Regions from separate parts of the Homo sapiens genome. Here region 1 is linked to region 2. Evidence: promoter capture Hi-C in 16 types of primary human blood cells and fetal thymus (Javierre and others, 2016). All regions are on one chromosome and are shown on one strand. Each heading gives the region's core, a stretch centred on a gene start or on the middle of the fragment in contact. The rest is flanking DNA. Distances are from core to core; before and after follow the strand shown.

Region 1 (4,687 bases), core at 147-2,646, 550 kb after region 2:
ATTGACACATAGTAATCGTACATATTTATGGGGTACACAGTGATGGTGCAGTACATAGAATGTAAAATGATCAGATCAGGGTAATTAGCATGCCCATCATCGCAAATATCACTTTTTTGTGTGTTGGGAACATTTTTTTTTTTTTTTTTTGAGACGGAGTCTCGCTCTGTCGCCCAGGCCGGACTGCGGACTGCAGTGGCGCAATCTCGGCTCACTGCAAGCTCCGCTTCCCGGGTTCACACCATTCTCCTGCCTCAGCCTCCCGAGTAGCTGGGACTACAGGCGCCCGCCACTGCGCCCGGCTAATTTTTTGTATTTTTAGTAGAGACGGGGTTTCACCTTGTTAGCCAGGATGGTCTCGATCTCCTGACCTCATGATCCACCCGCCTCGGCCTCCCAAAGTGCTGGGATTACAGGCGTGAGCCACCGCGCCCGGCCGGGAACATTTAACATCCTCCTCCTAGCTATGTGAAACTGTATATTATTAGTAGCTATGGTCATCCTACAGTGGCGTAGAACATTAGAACTTGTTCCTCCTACCTAGCTATAATTTTGTATCCTTCAACCAACCTCTCCCTATCCCCAGTTTCCCCCCACCCTTCCCAGCCTCTAGTATCCTCTGTTCTTCTTTTTACTTCTATGAGATCACTTTTTTTTTAAGCTTCCATACGTGGGTGAGAACATGTGGTTAACTTTTGTTAAGCATTTTTAAGGTCTTGATTTTTACTCTTTGGAAAAGAAAACTGGGAACGTTTCAGTGCCCACAGTTTTATCTCCCCTGATTGGGCTGATGCGTGTCTGGAGACTGACCGCCACCTGCCTGGGAAGCTCCCGGGCCACACCTAAGCCACACTTCCCGGTGCCGTGCAGAATCGGAAGACATTCACTGATCCCCTTTGTGTCTTTAAAGGATATTCCCCGAGTCCCTCCGGTGGCTAATGGCCACCCAGCAGTTTGAGTCTGCAAAGAGGCTGATCCTCCACTTCACACAGAAGAATCGCATGAACCCTGAGGGCGACATCAAGGGTGTGATACCAGGTGAGCACACCGCGGGCTGGCAGGGCTCAGAGAGGCTCCACGGGGCAGGTCCCTGACACCTGGGCTGGTTTTGTTGCACAAACAGCTGTTTTAACCAGCTGTGCAATTCTCCTGTGACCTTTTGGCCTGCACAAGGGCAATGTGGCAACCTTGACATTCTCTCCATTTTCTAGGTGTTGGTTTCTTTCATGATCAAGTCCAGCACACTCTGGATCTGCTCATCTCCTGTCTAAATGCAGAAGCGAGCCATGAGCCCAATATACACTGCTCAAGGGAATATCTGGCTGTCTGGCCCATAGCCTACCTGCCTGCCAGGTCTAAACACTGCCAGAGCGCTGGCTCAGGGTGTAGATGGCCCCTGTGACCTCAGCTTTCCTGAGCATGACCTTCAGAGAGCCACCATTGTCTTTACCTGGCCATGACCTATTTGTTGGGCAGCTGAAGACAGGAAAGGTGAAGTGTTTTTGGATAGTCGTTCAGATCCATAGAATTCCTGCGTGTCAGGAGCGTTACCACAGCTAGGTGGGGGTTCTCAACCTGGGGATCCACGTATCACCAGGAGGTTGTTAAAATCCAGATTCCTGGGCCTCTCCCTGGCACCTGGAGATCCTGACCTGTTAGATTTGGGATAAGCCCTGAGAACTTGCATTTCTAATAAGCACTAGAAGAGATTCTGATGCAAGTGGTATACAGATTTCCGTTTGAAGATCACTGGTGGTCTCGGCCCAAGCTCTGACTCACTGCCCTCACTGAAGACCTGGGATAAATTGTTGCTATAAAATTCCCTGGGAAAATAACCTCCAGGCCATCGTCCAAGAGAGAATATGCTCATTTTCCCCCCTGACCAGAAATGCTTGTGATCATGATTCATTCAGTAAACCAACACGTGTTTACTAGATGCCTGCTGTGTTTCAGGCGCTATTCTAGAGCAGAGAAGACACAGGCAAAGCCTTGCTCTCACGTAACTTGCAGGCAGGTGGGGCACACAGACAGGGAAGTTACACGTGCATACGTCAGGAGGGATGAAACAGCAGGGCTGTGGGATAGAGGGTGGCAGGGAGGGACTACAGTCAGAGTGGCTGCGGAAGCTTTGCTCCAGGGGCACAGGTGCAGGGGCCTGAGTGAGGTGGGAGAATGTGCCCTGCAGGTATCCATTTACGATGGGAAGGGATGCACGGGAACCCCAAATCAGAGAAGCCCTTGGTACCTGGACAGGCCTCTCGTTAGACTCCCAGTTCAGAAGATCGGGGACACTAGGTCACTAGAAGCTCCTTGGTGCTGCCGTAGCTCAGCCAGGATGTCACCCTCTGCCTCAACTTGTGCAGGGCCGTGAGAGTCAGGTCACCCAGGCTGGACCACGTGCTGGGTGGGGTGGGGCCTACCCAGGGACGCCTGAAGCTTTTGCTTCGCTGGACAGAAGAAGGACATGAGCCAGGTCTGGTTGACATGAAGGGTGCTGAGTGCTGGTGCATCTGTGGTCCCTTTTTATCCAGGGACAGTGACGAGAAACACGATGACACTCACATGGCACTCACATTTCAGCTCCTTTTCTAAGTGATTTGCAAATATTAATTCATATTTAATATTTAGCCCCCAAGTGCTTCACGTGTATTATTTCTCCATGACAGCCTATGAGAGAGGCACTATAATTAGCCCCGTTTGCCGATGAGGAAACGGGAGCACAGAGAGGCTAAGCAGCTTCCAGAGGTCACACAGCTGCTAAGAAGTTGAGCGAGGACTTGTCCAGCAGGGGTGCAAAGTCCAGCAGGGGTGGCTTTGCCACGCTGCTCTAACATGAGGGAGAGCTCTGGATAGATACAAACTTCCCTGCGCTGAGTAGTGAGTACTCAATCCAGGTTTCTCCAGCGGGGCCATGCTTGCTCGTTTTGGACGGTCCAGATGGCTTTCCCAGATTTCCCCAGACCTCACTCGTTAGCAGGTTAATGCTCTTAGGCTTACAGTACAATTTGTTTGTGGCATTTCCCTAATTAAGTCATCACACTCTGCTTCTTTCACGTTAAAATATTGTCTGGGAATAGCTTGTTTTCTCAAATCCTAATTACACTGATTCATTTCCCTCCTATATTTGGAAAGTGGTATTAGATCCTTTTTAAAAATTTATTTCTTTGCTTATGAGTTTTGCTGGTGCTTATTTCCTTTCCAGAGTCCCAGGCAGGAGGCTGGGTGAGAGGCAGTTGGTGACATGTGACTTAACAAAGAGGATAGAGGCTTCACCTCCTTGGGGAGCGGTCCTCAGGTGGTGGCTCTGCCCCGCAGCCCTTCACAGTGGACTCTGCTCTCTTCCACCCCCAGCTGTCAGATGTGTTGATGGCAGCACGATTGGCAGGGCTGCTGAGTGTGGGGGAAGGCAGCGTGTCTTTCAGTTGCTACATCTCCCACTTCCAGCTTCCTCTGCCCAGGCTCAGTTTTCTGCATGGAATCTTCCTCCCATCACCCCATCTAATCCCACAGCCAACACCTGCTCCGAGCCTCGTGTCTGTCACCCTCTCGCGCCCTGGCCGGCTGGCTGGGCTCCCAGCTTTGTTCCATCCTCCCTGCCACCAGGTCACACATGATCTGATCACATCACCACCGGCTTCAAGCCTCTCCAGTGCCTCCCAGTGCCTTTCGGGTAGACCCCAGGTCCTCCAGGCCACTGCAGAGGCTCTGATCTCTGCCTCCCACCACCTCACACCCTGGCCTTCGTTTGGCTCCCAGGACACACCACCGTCTCCCTCTCCACAGGTCCCTCCCGGTGCACACTCCCTGTCCTCTCAGCTCCCCACTCTTGCCTTGCCCAGCTCCTCAGAGACCAAGTCAGCCCCCAGTTATTCACTGTTACAACTTCAGCACTTCTCCCCGCTTCCCCTCATCCCAGCTACGACGAGTAATTGCAGGGTTCCTTATTACTGCCTGTCACCCCTGCAGAGCGGCAAGGCCAGGCAAGGCAGGGCCCGTCTGTAGAGCCAGACACTTCTGTGCCCCCAGCAGCAGCCCAGCCGAAGGCCTGACGCGACGCGTAGCAGGTGTGCCATGAATATTTATGGGCTAAACGAACCCAGGACTCCTATAGGAAGGAAGGGTTAGGATTGCGGTTGCATTGCCACTGGGTAAGTAAGCGTCTCGGGCCTGGCTGGAGGTACGTGTAGGGGTCCAGTGGGGCTGCTCACTGCCCCATCAGTACATCCTAACCTTGGACTTATGCCGGGGGAAAACCTGATGTTCTCAAATTTCTTATTTCCTTTTCTCTTTTAAAGCTGTCCTTGGTTTATCTCCTAGCAAGTGTGAAGTTCTTACTGGCCTGTGCAGCTGAGTTTAGATATGTGGGTGTGTTCCTGAGCATCATTCTCTCAATGTCAGTCCTGCAACCTTCATATCACATAACGTGCCCAACTGCTGAGAGCACTCCTGTGTCATTAGTTCCTGAGGTTTTGAGCGTTTAAAGCAGGAGTAGAAGGCCCGCTGGTTCCCAATGTGGCCGTGTGGCCAGCAGCCTAATGCAAAAACGAGACCCGGGATGAGTGCCACACACGGCACTGTGCCTTCAGTTTCACAGGCTGAGCATCCCTTATCCAGAATGCTCGGGACCAGAAGTGTTTTGGGGATTGGATGTTTTGGGATTTGGGGATATTTGTATGATACTTACTGG
Region 2 (4,603 bases), core at 96-2,595:
CTTGTTCTTCTCGTACCAGCTGCGCAGCACCACCTTGCCCGCGTGCGACTCGTCCTTCTCCATGGTGGCGTCGCTGAGCAGGCGCACGTCATCGTGCACATCGAAGCTGAAGAGCGGCCCGCTCTTGCCCCTCGCCCTGGCGATGATGAAGTCGTAGAAGGTGTGGTAGTGCGGCAGGATGAGGTCCTCCTTGATGAACATGAGCTGCTCCACGCCGGCGGAGCGCAGCTCCAGGAAGTCCTTGCGCAGCCCCTGCAGCGCCTTCTTCAGGAACTGCTGCACCGTGTTGCCCTTGCGCACCCGCACCGTGCGCCGGTGGCCCGAGCCGTCCCAGTAGCTGAAGGTGACCTCCATCTCCTCGTCCTTCACTTTCTCGCGCTGCGCCTCCCACTCTTGGCGCAGCTCCTCTCGGAGCCGGTTCTCCTCCTCCTCGCGGTCGCGGTCTGGCAGGAAGCTGGTGTCCACGTCGGGGTTCTTGCCCAGGTTTCCGGCGCGCCTGGCCTCGGCCGCGTCGGCCTGGTCATCGAGGTCGTCTAGTGCAAAGGACAGGCAGGAGATCTTACGCTTGCGCTCGCGCCGCTGCTCCTGCTCCCGCTGCCGCTCCTGCTGCAGCCGCTGCTCCTCCAGGTGCTGGCGCTTGGCCAGCTGCCGCTCGCGCTCCCTGACCAGGGCCTCCTGCCGGGCCTTCATGTCGTTCAGGGTCACCAGGCCCACCGTGCTGGACTTCAGCTCGGCCTCCACGGCGTCGTAATGCGCCGAGAACCTCTTGTCCACCTGCGACTTGAGGATGGTCTCCTCGGCGATGCGCTGCTTCAGCACCTCCATCTGCTCCCGCTGCCTTTCGCGCTTCTTGAGGAGGTGCATGGCACGGCCTGCCTCGCGCATGGTGCCCTTGTACTGCGCCATGGCCCGCGCCTACCCGATGGGCTCTGCAGCAAAGAGGAAAAACGCGGCAGGTAGAGGGGGGCCCACGCAACGGCGGGGAATGCTCAGCTCTGCGCCTCCTCACAGGGCTTTCGGCAGTGATGGAAGCGTTCAGGGGCTGGGCCGACCTGCTAGGGTAACCACCAACCTGACAGTGTCACCAGGCACCAATTTCCAGCATTTTATTTGACCTCAATAAATGCAAATGCGAACGGCCCCACGTAACGGGTGGCTGCCATGCCTGAGCGCAGCGCTGAATTTGGGGAGCTGCATACAGAGAGGGTTGGGCTACTGAGCGGACCCTTACCTGCCCAAGCACCCTGTCGAGCGGAGACACGCGGGAGCTGACCTCCACGAGAACCACCCACGAGCAGAGGCCCACTCGCCCCGGGCTCTCGCGACAGCCGTGGACACAGGAAGTGGAGGCGGTGCGCCCCCTGGCGGGGAGGCGGGCCCTGAGGAGAGTGCCAGGCTCCTGGTAGGGCGGCTGCGGAAACAGGAAGTGGAGGTGGATCGCCCCCTGGCGGGGAGGCGGGCCCTGGGAAGAGCTCCGGGCTCCTGGTAGGGGCGGTGCTCCTGTGGGGCGGGCCAGCGCGGGGAGGATCCTGGAGGAGGCGCTTCTGGCCCTGCCCAGCCGTGGCTGGCCGGGGCTCCTGTTTTCACGCTGTGGGCAGGGCGGGCCCCCACCTGCTGTGCGTGCGTGCTGAGCCTTCTCGTGCCCAACTGTAAACACGCAGAAGCAATGTGGGCGCAGCGCAAGCTGCTGTGGCCACCCAGAGAGCCTTGCAACACGGCCCTGCTCTCCAACCCTCCTCCTCCCGCCTCTGATGCTACCCCGCTGTGGCGTCTCGTGAACATTACCTGCGCACCACTGCCTGTAATTCTTTCTTATGGCCCCAACACAACCATTCTTTGATAATAGAACCCTACTCGCCCCCCAGTTTCGTGACAAAACCTGCACTCAGCTTGTTTGACCTCTTCTATACAGCAGTTTCCCCCGGGTTCTAAGCTCTAATAACCATGGGACACTGAGTTAAAGTGTAGCAGTGTCTTTACTGTGAGCCTCTAACATGCCAGTTTCCACTGTAACTCTCCAAGAGCAGGGCAGACCAGTTCATGTTTCGTGACCGTTTCTCCCCTGCAGGAGATCTGGTAACACTCGCCGAAACCAGTGCTTCCTGGGACCTAGTTTGGAAAAGCTGGTTGTGAAATACATACTGCGGTTCAGCCTCCTCCCGCCTAAGAGCAACAATGCCTGTGAGCATAACCTTACCAAGAAGCGTGAATCATATGATAATTACATATGGCACCCACATATCCAGAGGAGAACAGCACGGTGTGAGCCCTCATCAAATTGTCCAAGCCAGAAACCTAGGCCTTTTCCTGGAATGACGTTCCTCCACAGGTAATCAATTACAGAAGAGCCTTTCACACTTTCCTTTTTCTCCCATTCCCCACCACTTGCCTTAATCTAGGAAATTAGCATTTTTTTTAATCTAAAGCCTTCTCATTGTTGCCCCATCACCAGAATACAAGAATATCTTATTTTATTGAGCTCTGGGATACTGTGTGTTTTGTTTTTGTTTTTACAAATTGAAGATTTGTGGCAACACAGCGTCAAGCGCCTACTGGCTCCATTTTTCCAGCAGCATGTGCTCACTTCGTGTTCCTGTGTCACATTTTGGTAATTCTTGCAATATTTCAGACTTTTTCATTGTGATATCTGCTATGGTGATCTGTGATCATCGTTCTGTGAGGTTATTGTAATTGTTTGGGGGCACTCCGAAGTGTGCAGTAGAAGACAAAGACGTTTATTGATTTAACTGATAAATGTTATGTATGTTCTGACTGCTCCACTGACTGGCTGTTCCTTCATCTCTCTTCCTGTCCCTAGGCTTCCCTAGTGCCTGAGACACAGCAATATTGAAATTAGGCCAATTAATAACCCTACAATGGCCTCTAAGTGTTCAAGTGAAAAGAAGTGTCACACGTCTCTCACTTTAAATCAAAGGCTAGAAATGATTCAGCTCAGTGAGGAAAGTATGTCAAAAGCCAGGATAGGCCAAAAGCTAGGCCTCTTTTGCCAAACAGTTAGCTAAGTTGTGAATGCAAAGGAAAAAAATCTTGAATGAAACTGAAAGCGCTTTCCTGGTAAACATATGAATGATAAGAAAGCAAAACAGCCTTATTGCTTATATGGAGAAAGTTCTAGTGGTCTGGATAGAAGATCAAACCAGCCACGACATTCCCTTAAACCAAAGCCTAATCCAGGGCAAGGCCCTAAGTCTCTTCAATTCTGTGAAGCTGAGAGAGGTGAGGAAGCTTCAGAAGAAAAGTCTGAAGGTAGCAGAGGTTGGTTCATGAGGCTGAGGAAGGAAGTCACCTCTATAACATAAAGTGCAAGGTGAAGCAGCAAGTGTGATGGAGAAGCTGCAGCAGGTTATCCAGAAGATCTAGCTAAGAGCACTGATGACGGAGGCTACCCTAAACAATACATTTTCAATGTAGACAAAATAGCCTTCTATTGGAAGAAGATGCCATTTAGGACTTTTATATCTAGAGAGGAGAAGTCAATGCCTGGCTTCATGGCTTCAAAGGACAGGTTGACTCTCTTGCTAGGGGCTAGTGTAGCTGGAGACTTTCAGTTGAAGCCAATGCTCACTTACCATTCTGAAAATCTTAGTGCCCTTAAAAATTATGCTAAATCTACTGTGCCTGTGCTCTGTAAATGGAACAACAAAACCTGGAGGACAGCACATCTGTTTACAGCATGGTTTACTGAATATTTTTAAGCCCAGTGTTGAGACTTACTGCTCTGATTATTCCTTTCAAGATATTATTACTCATTAACAATGCACTTGGTCACCTAAGAGCTTGATGGAGATGCTCAAGGAGATTAAAGTTGATTTCATGCTTGCTAACACAACATCCATTCTGCAACCCATAGATCAAGGAGTAATTTTGACTTTTAAGTCTTATTATTTAAGAAATACATTTCCAAAGGTTATAGCTGCTGTATGTAATGATTTCTCTGATGGATCTGGGCAAAGTAAATTGAAATTTTTCTGGAAGGCATTCACCACTGTAGGTGCCATGAAGGACATTCACAGTTTTTGGGAGGAGGTAAAATATCAACATTAACAGAAGTTTGGAAGAAGTTGATTCAAACAGCATTACATGTTACAAAGAAATCTTTCGTGAAAGGTAGAATCAATCAATGTGACAAACTCAATATTGATTTAAGAAACTGCCACAGGCCCAGCCTTTGGCAACCACCACCCTGATCAGTCAGCAACCATCAACACTGAGGCAAGACCCTCCACCAGCAAATAGAGCACAGCTCACTGAATGCTCAGAGGATCATTAGCATTATTTAGCAATTAAGTATTTTTAATGAAATTATGCACATTATTTTCTTAGACAAAATGCTACTGCACACTTACTAGACTATAGTATAGTATAAACATAACTTTTATATGCACTAGAAAATTTAAAAATTTGTGTGACTGTCTTTGTGGTGGTCTGGAACTGAACCCACAGTATCTCCGAGGTATGCCTGTATTCTTGTTCTTGTCTAACTTCTATACAATATCCTCAGAGATCTTCATAAAAAATGAATCTGATAACATTACTCTCCTACTTGAAAAACTCCAACTTCCCTTGTAACAGCCACATCAGA

What was found. The method cuts DNA at HindIII sites, captures the fragments that hold promoters and counts their contacts. A CHiCAGO score of 5 or more calls a contact.
Region 1: a contact is called between a fragment that was not itself captured here and the fragment with the promoter of FAM50B in region 2, in 1 of 17 cell types (M2 macrophages). The highest score is 6.2, in M2 macrophages.

Annotation. Positions count from the first base shown.
Region 1 is chr6:3,294,442-3,299,128 of GRCh38, reverse strand. SLC22A23 (solute carrier family 22 member 23) reads left to right here. Exons shown (of 10, transcript NM_015482.2): 5 at 911-1,038. Among named protein-coding and RNA genes, the nearest start is that of PSMG4, 38 kb to the right of the region's middle. RefSeq lists an enhancer at 1,924-2,424. The HindIII fragment of the contact is 1,465 bases long and covers 664-2,128 here.
Region 2 is chr6:3,846,115-3,850,717 of GRCh38, reverse strand. FAM50B (family with sequence similarity 50 member B) reads right to left here and starts at 1,345. Exons shown (of 2, transcript NM_012135.3): 1 at 1,232-1,345; 2 at 1-929. The coding sequence starts at 906. LOC107986557 (a long non-coding RNA gene) reads left to right here and starts at 1,352. Exons shown (of 3, transcript XR_001743931.2): 1 at 1,352-1,402; 2 at 2,069-2,329. RefSeq lists an enhancer at 1,162-1,281 and a silencer at 1,552-1,671. The HindIII fragment of the contact is 3,705 bases long and covers 1-3,248 here.